2 separate regions of the Homo sapiens genome follow, and region 2 is linked to region 1. The links are contacts of gene promoters, found by promoter capture Hi-C in human tissues and cell types (Jung and others, 2019). All regions are on one chromosome and are shown on one strand. Each heading gives the region's core, a stretch centred on a gene start or on the middle of the fragment in contact. The rest is flanking DNA. Distances are from core to core; before and after follow the strand shown.

Region 1 (6,055 bases), core at 1-2,500:
GGAGCAGAGCTGGCTGCAGGTGTCTGGTCCTGACCACTCCTCTATGCCACCCTTGAGGAGCTTGCTGACTTTCTCATGACGTTCTCCCATTCCAGGAGCTGCAAGTGCGTTATCCTGGCTGGAGCACGGTGTCAATCACGGCAGACTAAGGCCAGCGGTGATGGCTTGAATGCCAGGCTGGGGGCTGGGATTTTTCCTGAGGATTTCACAGGACAGAGGTTGGCTTGGAAAGACCAAGGTGGGACTGAGGAACATTCCCCCTACCCCCAACCTCGGTGGGCTGTTGCAAGCCTGGAGGCCAGAGAAGACGGGCCTGGGATGCCGCGGGCGCAGGGGCAGGCAGTGAAGGAGATGGCTGCCTTCGGTAGAGCTGGTCGCTGAGGCAGAAGAGGAGGGCGTGGGGCGTGGGGCGTGAGGTGGCCGGCGCCCCGGCTGGCCAATGGCCGGGCTGCGGCCCCTCCGCGGGGCGGGGTGGGCCTGGTGGGCGGGCGGGGCTCGGGGCGGGGGCGGAGAGGGAGCCTGGTGGGCGGGCGGGGCGCGTCTTGCGGGCTCCCTCGGGTACCGGCGCTGCCGCACCCCGCCGCGCTCCCGCACCCGCGGCCCGCCCACCGCGCCGCTCCCGCATCTGCACCCGCAGCCCGGCGGCCTCCCGGCGGGAGCGAGCAGATCCAGTCCGGCCCGCAGCGCAACTCGGTCCAGTCGGGGTGGGTGAGGGGCGGCGGCGGGGGAGGGGACGACTCTGCTGAGCTCAGCCTCTCTTGGTGGATGTGGGGCGGGGCGCTCGAGTAGGACCCGACGCCAAGGGGAGGGGGCTGACCTGTGCTTGGTCCACCCCAGGTAGGGGCTGAGAGAGGCTTGAGGTGGAAGTGGGGGTCGGGCACTCTGACCTGGTCGAGGAGGGGCTAGGGTTTGAACCGGGGACAGAGTCTAGGTGAGCTGGGGCTTGGGAGCTATTAGCGTAGAGGATCCGGGTTCGGTTGCTCTGGCGAGGGCTCCAGCATCACAGGTGAGGAGCAGAGCTCAGCTTGTGCTCGAGGATGGGGGTGCGGGGTCCTGGGGCGATCGGGGCTCGGGCTGGAGCGGGTGGGGTCGCGTCTTTTCGGGTGTAGGGGAGCTGCGTTTTCAGGGGCCTCGGTTTCCTCCCGTCTCCGGGCGGGTGCGGGAAAGAGGGGCGCCAGGGGCGGGCGGCGGGGCGGAACGGGGCGGGGCGGCGGGCCCAGCGAGGGGGGTGGTCCGCGCGCCTCTGATCGCGTTCCGGGACACACAGGCGGCGGCTGCGGGCGCAGAGCGGAGATGCAGCGGCTTGGGGCCACCCTGCTGTGCCTGCTGCTGGCGGCGGCGGTCCCCACGGCCCCCGCGCCCGCTCCGACGGCGACCTCGGCTCCAGTCAAGCCCGGCCCGGCTCTCAGCTACCCGCAGGAGGAGGCCACCCTCAATGAGATGTTCCGCGAGGTTGAGGAACTGATGGAGGACACGCAGCACAAATTGCGCAGCGCGGTGGAAGAGGTGGGTGCGCCCTGGCGGCGCGGGGCTCTGAGAAGCGCCAGACTGGGGGCAGCGAAGTCTGGGAAGGCATGGAAGAGCGCTGGCCAGGGACCTCGGGTCCCGCGCAGGGCCTGGGAAGGGCCGACAGCAGATGCGGAGTGACCTGGAGGCAGCGCACGGTGATCCCTACTCCCGCCTCGTTTTGCCTCCTTGCCAAAAAGTCTGGATCTGAGCCTGTCCACCGAGAGGCTCTGCACTGGACCCTCCCTAGGTAGCTGGGGCCACCACCTGCCTGCAGTTGGCGTCAGGCATGCCGTTGGCCTTCCCTATTGTCAGCAGAGGTTTGCAGGGCCCCTGGTATTCCAGCACTGTGGTTTCACAGAAACCCGGGACAAGCTCCAGGCATCGCCAAGTTCTAGCTTGTCCGTTATGCTTTGAGCTTGTTAGGATGCCATGCAGGGACAAAGAGGCAAAGAGCCCTGAGCTTTGCTGGCAGTCTGTCTGGGCTGTCTTGCTTCTCACGCAATGTGGGGGCAGAGAGGGAAGATGGAAATCCTAAATCTCAGCACTGTATGAGTGGCGGATGAGGATGTGAGAGGCAATACCCCCTCCACCCAACGGTGCTTCGCAGTTGTCCTGGGCTCAGGTCCTCCTCTGCCACTCAGTAGCAGGGTGACATTGGGCAAATCACTTAATATCCTGCACCTCAGTTTCCTGTGAAAACTAAATGTCATATGTGTGGGCACCTGGCAAATAATAGGTGCGCAGTATTTAGCAACTATTATCAGATACCACGTACCTTAGCAAAGCTTTGCCTAGCTTCTGCCCTCCATCACCTCCAGGTCTAAACACTGTGGGTGGCATCTTGTTCTGTCCTCTGTGATGGTCACCCACGCATGCCCAGGGCTACCTGGGCAGGAGATGTCACTGGCCCAGCCCTCTCTGTCCAGGTGCGGGGAGCTGTCCCTGGTGCCTGGGGTGGGTAGACGAGGGCGCTGTTGGGCCCAATCTGTCTGTAGCCTGTGTCTATAGAGAGGAGCCAGCCGTCCTAGTGAAGGAGGCAGCAGGAAACCAATGTCCAGGCTGGTTGGCCCCTGGTCTGGCTTCACATCCCTGCTGTCTCCAGCTTGGTATCCCCCTTGGGCAAAGCCTTAACTGCTGGCCCTTGTCTCCAGGGGGAAGTTGCTTTCTCCCCGCAGCCCTTTGTAGTTTGGGGCTATTTCCCCTCCCACTCCACAACAGTTAGCCTGTGGAGTTTGCAGTGAAGGGGACACTGGCTTGGGAGGCAGTGAAATGGGCAGCTGTCCTTGAATATCCACTGGACAGGCCCAGATCCCAAGACCCATGATCTTTCTGTTTCCTGTGATTGCAAAACAATCATGACATGGAGCAATTAAAGGGTGAAGGGATTCAGATAGGCCCCAATGTCTCTTAACTCTGAAGCTTCAAATTAAGTGGAGTTTGCGATGCCTCTGGTTCTAGGGCAGGCCATCTGCTTTCCTTATCCAGGTTCTAGGACTTTCCCTCCTGCACACAGATTCCCGGTAAGACTGACTAAGTCACCTCTATGTTTTTGTGCCCACCACTGTTCAGAAAGTCTGCAGCGTGGTCCTCTGACGTTAGCTTCTGCTGAGGGAGGAGAGAGAGCAGCAAGGGCCTCTTCAGTCTCTTCTTGAGCAGAGCAGTGTGGGGCCCTGCAGGACCTAGTGACGGGGTCTTCTCCATGGGCGTTATCCAGACTGGATTTTGCCAAGACCCCAGCTTTCCTCCCTCTAGATGTGGCTCTGTGTAGGTTGGGGGGTTGAAGTTTGCCACCAGAGGAGATGTGGGCTGTCACTTCTACCCCACTCTTTCCCAGAGGTGTCCTCGCTGGCAGTGGGTACAGGATGAGAGAGGTTGAACACCATGGCAGGAGAAGAGGCAGTGGGGACTGATCTTCCCTCATCCAGTCCCTGCTCTGCCACTTACTGGCAGTGGCGTTCCGAGTCTGAAGTGGAGAAATGTCCACCTCTTAGGGTAAGGTGAGAATTAAATGAGATGCTGCAAGTAAAGCAAATCAGTGAGTTGGGCAGCTATCCCTGAATATCCACTGGTCAGGTCAAGAGCCCAAGATCCATGATCTTTGTTTCCTGTGATTGTGAAACTATCATGACATGGAACAATTAAAGGGTGAAGGGAGTCATATAGGCCCCAATGTCTCTTAATTCTGCAGCTTCACATTAAATTGAGCTTGTGATGCCTGTGGTTCTAGGGCAGGCCATCCGCTGACTGCCTAAAATGGGGTTAAGTAAAACACGTGTAATACAGGTAGCTTCATTGTGAGGTGGCTGTAAGGATGACATGATGGTTGGTTGTAAATAAGTAACAGGTATCATTATCATCATATTACTAGTAGCAGTATGAATGATAACAAAACACCACCAGTGTCTGATAGATTCTCAATAGAATCTATCTTTTAAAATATCTTAAACCATTAAAAATTAATCTTAAAATACTAAAAGTATCTTTTAGATATCTTCAAAAATAGAATACAATAGATTGTTTATAGACTGTGGTTATTAGTATTAACTTTTTATGGAGACTGCCAGAATGCCCCTTAAATCTCATAGACACAGGATAATTGGTATTTAGTCATTGTTCAGGGGAAAAATCAAAAAGGACCTGGGCCAGATGCATTATTTGTTTACATAGTTGCATCATGAATCTCCTTTCAAGTAACTTCCTGGCATTTTCAATGTTCCAGCTGAATCAAGCTGTTGAAGTTTCTTAAGGGGAAGGACAAAGCAGCTCTACTTGTACGGTCATTATTGGAAGAAGCATATCTTCAAATGGCTTCAATCTGGGATATTCCTACTTTCCTGTGTTACTATTCTATATGCTACCAATCAATGTATTCTGAAGATATAACCACTCTGTTTCTCTTCCCCTCATGGCCAGCTCTGTAACTCACTCATTTTAGAATGTTCTTACTGCCTCACCTATTTCTAGTATAAGTGCCATTTTTAATAGCATTCACATTCCTCCTCTACGAAACAGCTCCTTTTGCTTCAGACTTAAGTTTCTCTTGCTAGTGGCAATAATAGTTGCGGTTGAAATTTCCATTGTAAACTATACTTTTAGTTCATGGTGCCATTTAAGAACCGTTAGCTCATTCTGTTGAAATAACCAGTGGCTGAGCTGGGGGGAAAAGTTTTATAAAAAGACTATCTGCTCAGCCCAGAGCAAATTCTAGGTTTGGCAACTTGTCAATTATTTGAAAGCCAAACTGATCCCGATGGGAATTTTAAAAACACTAAAACATTCTCTTCTTCTGGGTGGGTCCTCTCCAGCACCTTCAGTCTTCTCTTCCCAGCTGCGTTTTTTTCTATCACTAACCAGAGTGGTAACTGAGGGCAAGGTCTCTTGCTTTTAAGGAAAGTCATTTTCTTGCCCATTCTGTCTTCTATCTCAGCCCCATTTCTTCTCCCCTTTGTTGGCAAGCTCTTCAAACACATGATATCAACGTTTGCTCTTCCTGCTTCTAGCTACCCATTCCCTTCAGAACTCTGGCAAAACAAACTGGCTTCTTTTGAAACTGCCTTCTTAAAGGGCAACGGGATAAAAACAGCTGTGTATTTCATCTTTGCTGTGTGGCAGATAGTGTATTTCATGCCTTAATTCTTATATCTACTGCATGGTCCTTAATTCTTATATCTACTCAACAAAGTAGGACATCCCTATTTTACAAATGAGCAAGCTGAGGTTTAGTGGGATTTGGTATCTTGCCTAAAGTCATACAGCTACTTTGTGGCAGAGCCAGGACTTGAACCCACCTTGTCTGACTCCAGAATCCTGGTACTTTCCACTGTGTTCCTCTCCGAGGATGCTGCAGGCAATGACTTGACTCATCCAGTGGCCATCTCTCAGTGGCTTGATCCTTCTAGACTTACTTAGAGTCTTTCCCACCTAGAAGGTCCCTACCCAGAAGTAGCTCCCATCTCCTAGACCTAATTCTAGCCAGTTTCCTGACTCCCCTCTCTTTCTGATCTACTCTTTATATTATTTCCCGCTAGCCTTCTGGAACTTGCTGTAGTTCCCTATTGCCTGGAACGGAGATTCTTAACTGGGGATCAGAGGGAGGGGAGGGAAATCCTCAGAATAAGCTGAGAAGCTCAGTATTATCAGGGTCTCATCTCTAGAAATCCCAATTCAGCGGGTCCATGAAGGGATCCAGATATTTCAATTTTTTAAACTTTTGGACCTGACTCTATAATCACAGCTTCCCCATAAGGTTGCTGTCAATATTCAAGGCATCTGGTGCAACGATTCAGACATAGTCAATGCCCCAAACGTGGGGGCTATTCTTAGAATTATTATTGTTATGAAGCCAGTGATCAAGTTTCAAACATCTCAGCAGCCATCTCAGAATCCAGCACAGAATCCGGCCACTGACTAAGTCCTTGTTGAGCCTTTCTGCCTACCAGGTTTTATTCACACTTTGAGTTTAGTGTTTTTGTGTTGCATTGAGACATGAGGATTCTTTCCTCTTATCCTCCTCAGCTCAGCAAACCTGGTGGTTAAAGCAGGGGCT
Region 2 (6,055 bases), core at 1,644-4,143, 180 kb after region 1:
GACATTTTATAAAGATAAAAATCATTGCCACAGAAGTGCTTGCTTGCCTCTTTCTAAGCTGAAGAAATTCATAAAGAAAAGGTTAATAGGTCAGTGCATTCAACAGTATTAAAAAGAGGCTCACATCAACAGAAAATACCTTGGTAAACATATTGAAGGAGGAGAGGCAAATATCAGCGCCTAAGGCAACCAAAGATAAATTGACCACAATTCACTCAACTTTCTTTGCGGTCTGCAAGTGCCTAAATTTTAAGGTGCAAGAATAGGAAGGAATCTAGCAAAATAAAGTTGGAGTCACAGTGTTAAACTTTCTGAAATGATTTCATAATGTCTTTGAAGTAGAGTAATATTTATAAATTTGTCATTTGAAGAGATCTCAATATTCCTTGAGAATGTGAAGACTGAGTTGTAATAATTACTTGATAGCATTGTGAGAATTAGAAATAATGTATACAAAGGTGAATATTTTATAATAATATTGATTTGAAACAAAATAAAAGCCAGAAGTGTAAAGGGAAAGATGGTAATTAAAAAATTTTAACTCATGTATAGCAAAGATTAATATAAATAAAGTCAAAAGACAAAATATCATCTGGAAAAATATTCACAACAAATATGCCAAATGGCTAATTTTTTCAGTTTAAAAGACTGCTTATAAATCAATAAGGAAAAGATGAACAACCCAAGAGAAGCATGCTTAGAAGGTAAGTTAGCACCTCATTAAAAATGAAATATAAACTGCCAATAAATATCTGAAAAGATACTCAAATGTACTCATAATTAAATAACTGCAAATGAAAACAATGAAATGACATTTCACTCTTAGATTAGCAAAATTTATGGGGAAATAAAAACTCTTGTTTGAATTTGGTGGAATATGAGTTATTAAAAACATTTTAAAGGCAATATGTCAATGTATATAAAAAATTTCAAATGTGCCTATTCTTTGACCCAACAATTCTAAGATAATCCTACAGTACAAGTGTACAAAGACATATGTGTATTGATGTTCATTATAGCATTGTTTGTAATAATGCAAAACTAGAAATAATATAAATATTTGTCAGTAGGATCATGTAAATTGTGGTACACTCATACTATATAATACTATGCAGTTATTCAAATAGAATGAGGTAGAAAAATAAAAACTGTTATGGACTAAATGCAACATGATGTCTTAGACTGGATCCTGGAACAAAAAGAACATTAGTGAAACACTAGTGAAATTCAAAGTCAGACTTTAGTTAATATTAATGTACCAATGTTAATTTCTTATTTTTGACAAAAGTACCTTTGAGAGGTGAAGCCAGCTGGACTTCCTGGGTCGAGTGAGGACTTGGAGAACTTTTCTGTCTAGCTAGAGGATTGTAAATGCACCAATCAGTGCTCTGTGTCTAGCTAAAGGATTGTAAATGCACCAATCAGCACTCTGTAAAATGGACCAATCAGCACTCTGTAAAATGAACCAATCAGCAGGACGTGGGCGAGGACAAATAAGGGAATAAAAGCTGGCCACCCCAGCCAGAAGCGGCAAGCCGCGAGTCACCTTCCATACTGTGGAAGCTTTGTTCTTTCGTTCTTCACAATAAATCTGGCTGCTGCTCACTCTTTGGGACTGTGCCACCTTTAAAAGCTGTAACAGTCACCGTGAAGGTCCATGGCTTCATTTGTGAAGTCAGCGAGACCAAGAATTCACCAGAAGGAACCAACTCCGGACACACCTTGATTATGTAAAATGTTAATATGCAACTCTACTGTAAATCCAAAATTATGCAAAAATGAAAAGTTTATTTAAAAAAGGTGAGATAGAAGATCAAGATATAACAAATAAGAAAAAGAAACTTGCAGGATTGTATGTATGGCATTTGTGTACTGAAAGATGGTGTTATAAATATGTACACCAGTATAAGCATAGAAATCTCTAGAAGAATATGCTCCTCCCCCTTCCTCCTCTCCTCAGAAAAGTTTGTAGTAATTATCTCTAAGTCACTGGAATGGAAGTTCTCAATGTCGGTGGAAGTAAAGAGTTAGTTAGAATCTTCTCTTTTTCTTTCTTTTTTTTTTTTCTTTTTTTTGTTTTTTTTTTTTCAGCCAGAGTCTCACTCTGTCACCCAGGCCAGAGTGCAGTGGTGTGATCTCGGCTAACTGCAACCTCCACCTCCCAGGTTTAAGTGATTCTCCTGCCGCAGCCTCCTGAGTAACTGGGATTACAGGCACATGCCACCACGCCTGGCTAAGTTTTGTATTTTTAGTAGAGACGGGGTTTCACCATGTTGGCCAGGCTGGTCTCGAACTCCTGACCTCACGTGATTCAACTGCCTAGGCCTCCCAAAGTGCTGGGATTACAGGCGTGAGTCACCGTGCCCAGCTGGAATCTTCTCTTTTTCGTTTTCACATTAAATCATACTGTGTTCTTTTAATTCTTTTAAAATAATTCGAAGACAACAAATTAAAAGAAATAATGTATGAAAACTGGTTAACATAATGACTGACACATTATAGATGCTCAGTATATAAAAACTTTCATTTTTTTTACTGGCCACTTTGGTTCATAACTTTTTATTGTATCTCTAATGACAAACACAAGTTTTTGTAGAGTACTTACTCTTAACTATGGTCCAGGCTCTGTATGGAGTATTTTACACACTCTATCTTATTACTCCCCATAACAACTTTATGATTTGGGAACAATTATTATCCTAATTTTACAGACAAGGAAACAGGAATAGAGAAGTTAAGTAACTTCCAAAGTCATAAGGCAAATAGATAAATAATGGAACTGGGATTTAAACCTAAGCAGTCTGACTCCAAAGTCTTTCATCATAGGTGAAGCCTCAGTTGCTTCTACAGATACAATCTTTAAACCTTCTGGTTCGTTATGTGGTAACTGCAATCTACCTACAGTGGAAGAAAGTAATGGCTAATCATTTTCACTCTTTAGCAGAGTTGGACGATCTGAAATCTCTAGATCTTTCTTTAAAAATTTTAGCCAATGGGCTCTGTAGCTTGATTCTTTAAATTTTAAATGTTTCTACTCATCTAATTGTTTGGTGATTTTCACTAGACTAAATGATCCCACTTCCTCATCATTTTTTAAGAGATCTAATTGTTTAATTCTTGTAGTTTCTTTTCTGGAAGACTAACAATCTCCTTCCCTAAAAGTGAACATTTTCTTTCTTTCTTTTTTTTTTTGAGACAGAGTTTTGCTCTTGTTGTCCAGGCTGGAGGGCAATGGCGTGATCTCAGCTCACTGCAACCTCCGCCTCCCGGGTTCAGGCGATTCTCCTGCCTCAGCCTCCCTAGTAGCTGGGATTACAGGCATGCGCCACCACACCCAGCTAATTTTGTATTTTTGGTAGAGACGGGGTTTCTCCATGTTGGTCAGACTAGTCTTGAACTCCCAACCTCAGGTGATCCACCCGCCTTGGCCTCCCAAAGTGCTGGGATTACAGGCATGAGCCACTGCGCCCGGCTGAACATTTTCTTTAAGAAGGTAATTAGCAGTTGCTATCCCTTTCTTCTTCCTCTGTCTTCATCTGATAGAGCAGGTAGTGTTTTTGCATAATGCCACCTAAACTTGTCAAAGTCTTTCATGGACCAAAACATGCAAGTAAAGGAGTATCATCTTATCTTTTTACATGAGTCCTCTGGTAGAAAAAATTGAAAATGATACTTAGATGCTAACTGTTGATAAAATTTTCTACAGGTACAGATAATTAGGTCATCTTTTGTTTAAAAATATTTCAGAAATGTTATCTAATTTTCTAATGTGTTGGCAGAGCATAGGCTTTTAAACCTAATTATCATCACCATTGTTGCCCATAATCAACACTTAGATTGGATTCTTGTCGTATACATGGCCCTGTTGCTTATGAGGAATCATAAATTCCTAGCCAGACTCAAAGTCTCAGTTGATTTAACCACAAAAACTTCAAAATTTATTATGTGTGTGAGCACTACAATCATACAAGATTCTTTGGAAGATAAAATATAATAAATAAAATTTAGAAGGTAGACCATAAAAATAGATCAGAAAATGTGATGGAAAGAACAGAAAATGAGCAATAGTCATTTATCATAATACATTAATCTCCATTAAATATCTCTAAGGTGTTTGACATTGTGATAGATGCTTAAGAGAGCATAAAGTCAGTTTGGTGACTTATTGCCTGCATAATTGAATAAAGGAGATTAAAAATGATGGAGCATGTCAGAATTTATGTCGGAAAATGTACTCTGAAATTCAATTCAACAGATATTTATTAAGAGTCTTCTGACAAGGCGTGTTGCCAGGAACTATGTCAAACAGACGACTAAGAATGTTCTCTACTCTCAGGAAGCTCACAATTTAGTTAGAACAGCGCTAGCCAACATGAAAATTGGGGAAGGCACTCCAGAACTCACAGCTGTTTGAGCACAGCTTGGGCTAGACTTGAACCTTCACTCACCCTTAGCCAGGCATCTGCGTGCATTGCACAGCTTGAACAATCACACACAGAAGCCCTAGCTATGACTAAAACAAACAAGCATGATGGAAAGATAGAATAATAGATGTGCACATATAAACCTGAGTGTAGAGAAATGGATTATATGTGAACATGACAATTGAACCTCAAGATGATTGGTCAAATGTTTGAGAGAGAGAAAAAAAGGTCCCCTTTACCTATGATTGGCCCAGTATGGGTCGTATGCTTCATGTAATGGCCAAGACTAAACTGAGTGCTGATCGTCCCAATAGACACACAAGTGTGAAGACATTCCTGGCAGGCAAAAGCAACGCGGGAATCCTGGAGAAGAGAATTACAAATGTCATGCTGAGAACTTACACATTTTTTGGTTATTAGTAGAGAAATCTATTAGAAATAAATTTTGTCTTTATAAAATGTTTTATAGTAGTTTGGGAAAATTCAGTATTATTTAAGTCTACATGTAATAAGTGGAATTTGAATCTTAAAACTGTTTTCAACACACAAACTCATTTTCCAGAAAGTAACTACAATAAGCATTTTGAAGTGTAAGCTTCTGGACTACCACAGAAAGTTGTTTAGCTGTTAATTTTGGGGGCAGTGTTCTCCAATTATTTTTGACCAGATGTTTATTTCATAAATCACTAATATATATTGATTAATTTATTTATAAACTCAATACATGTCTTACTATTGTTGGCTAATGTCCTGAGACTTAACAACTTAGAGCAAAGTTCATCATTAAAGACACGGGTGGCCAGGTGCAACGGCTCACACCTGTAATCCCAGCACTTTGGGAGGCTGAGGTGGGAGGCTTGCTCTAGCTCAGGTGTTGGAGATCAGCCTGGGCAACATAGGAAGACTTCTGTCTCTACGAAAACATAAAATAAAAATAAATAGCTGGGCATGGTGGCATGTGCCTATAGTCCGAACTACTTGAGAGGCTGAGGTTGGAGGGTGGCTTGCACTCGGGGCGTCAAGGCTACAGTGAGCACCACTACACTCCAGCCTGAGTGACAGAGCAAGAACCTGTCTAAATAAATATAGTGATTGCAAATCCATATTTCAATATCTTCTTGATCGTTTCACAACGCTTTGTTTTACTGACACACTTGTCAGACTTGACAACACTGTCACAGCTTTAGCTTCCTAAGATGGCAGCTGAGGTATTGTACCAAGAGGAAGAGGAATGTTCGCTCTGCCATTTTCTCGTCTCCTTGTGTTTACAAGCAGCATCATGTTGTGGTTAAGGCCACTGACCCCAGAGAGAAATTGCCTGGGTTGCATTGCAGCCCTGCCATTGACTAGCAACATCGTTAAGCTGTCTACGCCCCAGTTTCCTCATGTTTAAAATGGGAATTAAAACAGTACTTTCCTCACAGGGTTTTTGCATGGATTAACTAAGTTAATAGAGATGAAACACTTAGGCCAGTGTCTGGCTTGTACTAAATGCCACATAAATATAATTGATCCTTGAACAAGGTAGAGTTTAGCTCCCCCTTCCCCTCCCCAGTCAAAAATTTGGGTATAACTTTTGAGTCCCCCAAAACTTGACTGCTAATAGCCTACTGTTGACTGAAGCCTTCCAG

Evidence for each region. Contacts are between HindIII fragments. The study calls those that stand out against the background at their distance.
Region 2: a fragment that was not itself captured here is called in contact with the fragment with the promoter of DKK3 in region 1 in 1 of the 25 tissues and cell types used here (IMR-90 fibroblasts).

What each region holds. Positions count from the first base shown.
Region 1 is chr11:12,003,821-12,009,875 of GRCh38, reverse strand. It overlaps DKK3 (dickkopf Wnt signaling pathway inhibitor 3), which reads left to right and starts at 1,250. Exons shown (of 7, transcript NM_001018057.2): 1 at 1,250-1,506. The coding sequence starts at 1,294. RefSeq lists an enhancer at 2,063-2,998. The HindIII fragment of the contact is 8,758 bases long and covers 1-2,611 here.
Region 2 is chr11:11,826,988-11,833,042 of GRCh38, reverse strand. All of the region lies in intron 2 of LOC107984311 (a long non-coding RNA gene), which reads left to right. Among named protein-coding and RNA genes, the nearest start is that of USP47, 12 kb to the left of the region's middle. The HindIII fragment of the contact is 6,108 bases long and covers 1-5,947 here.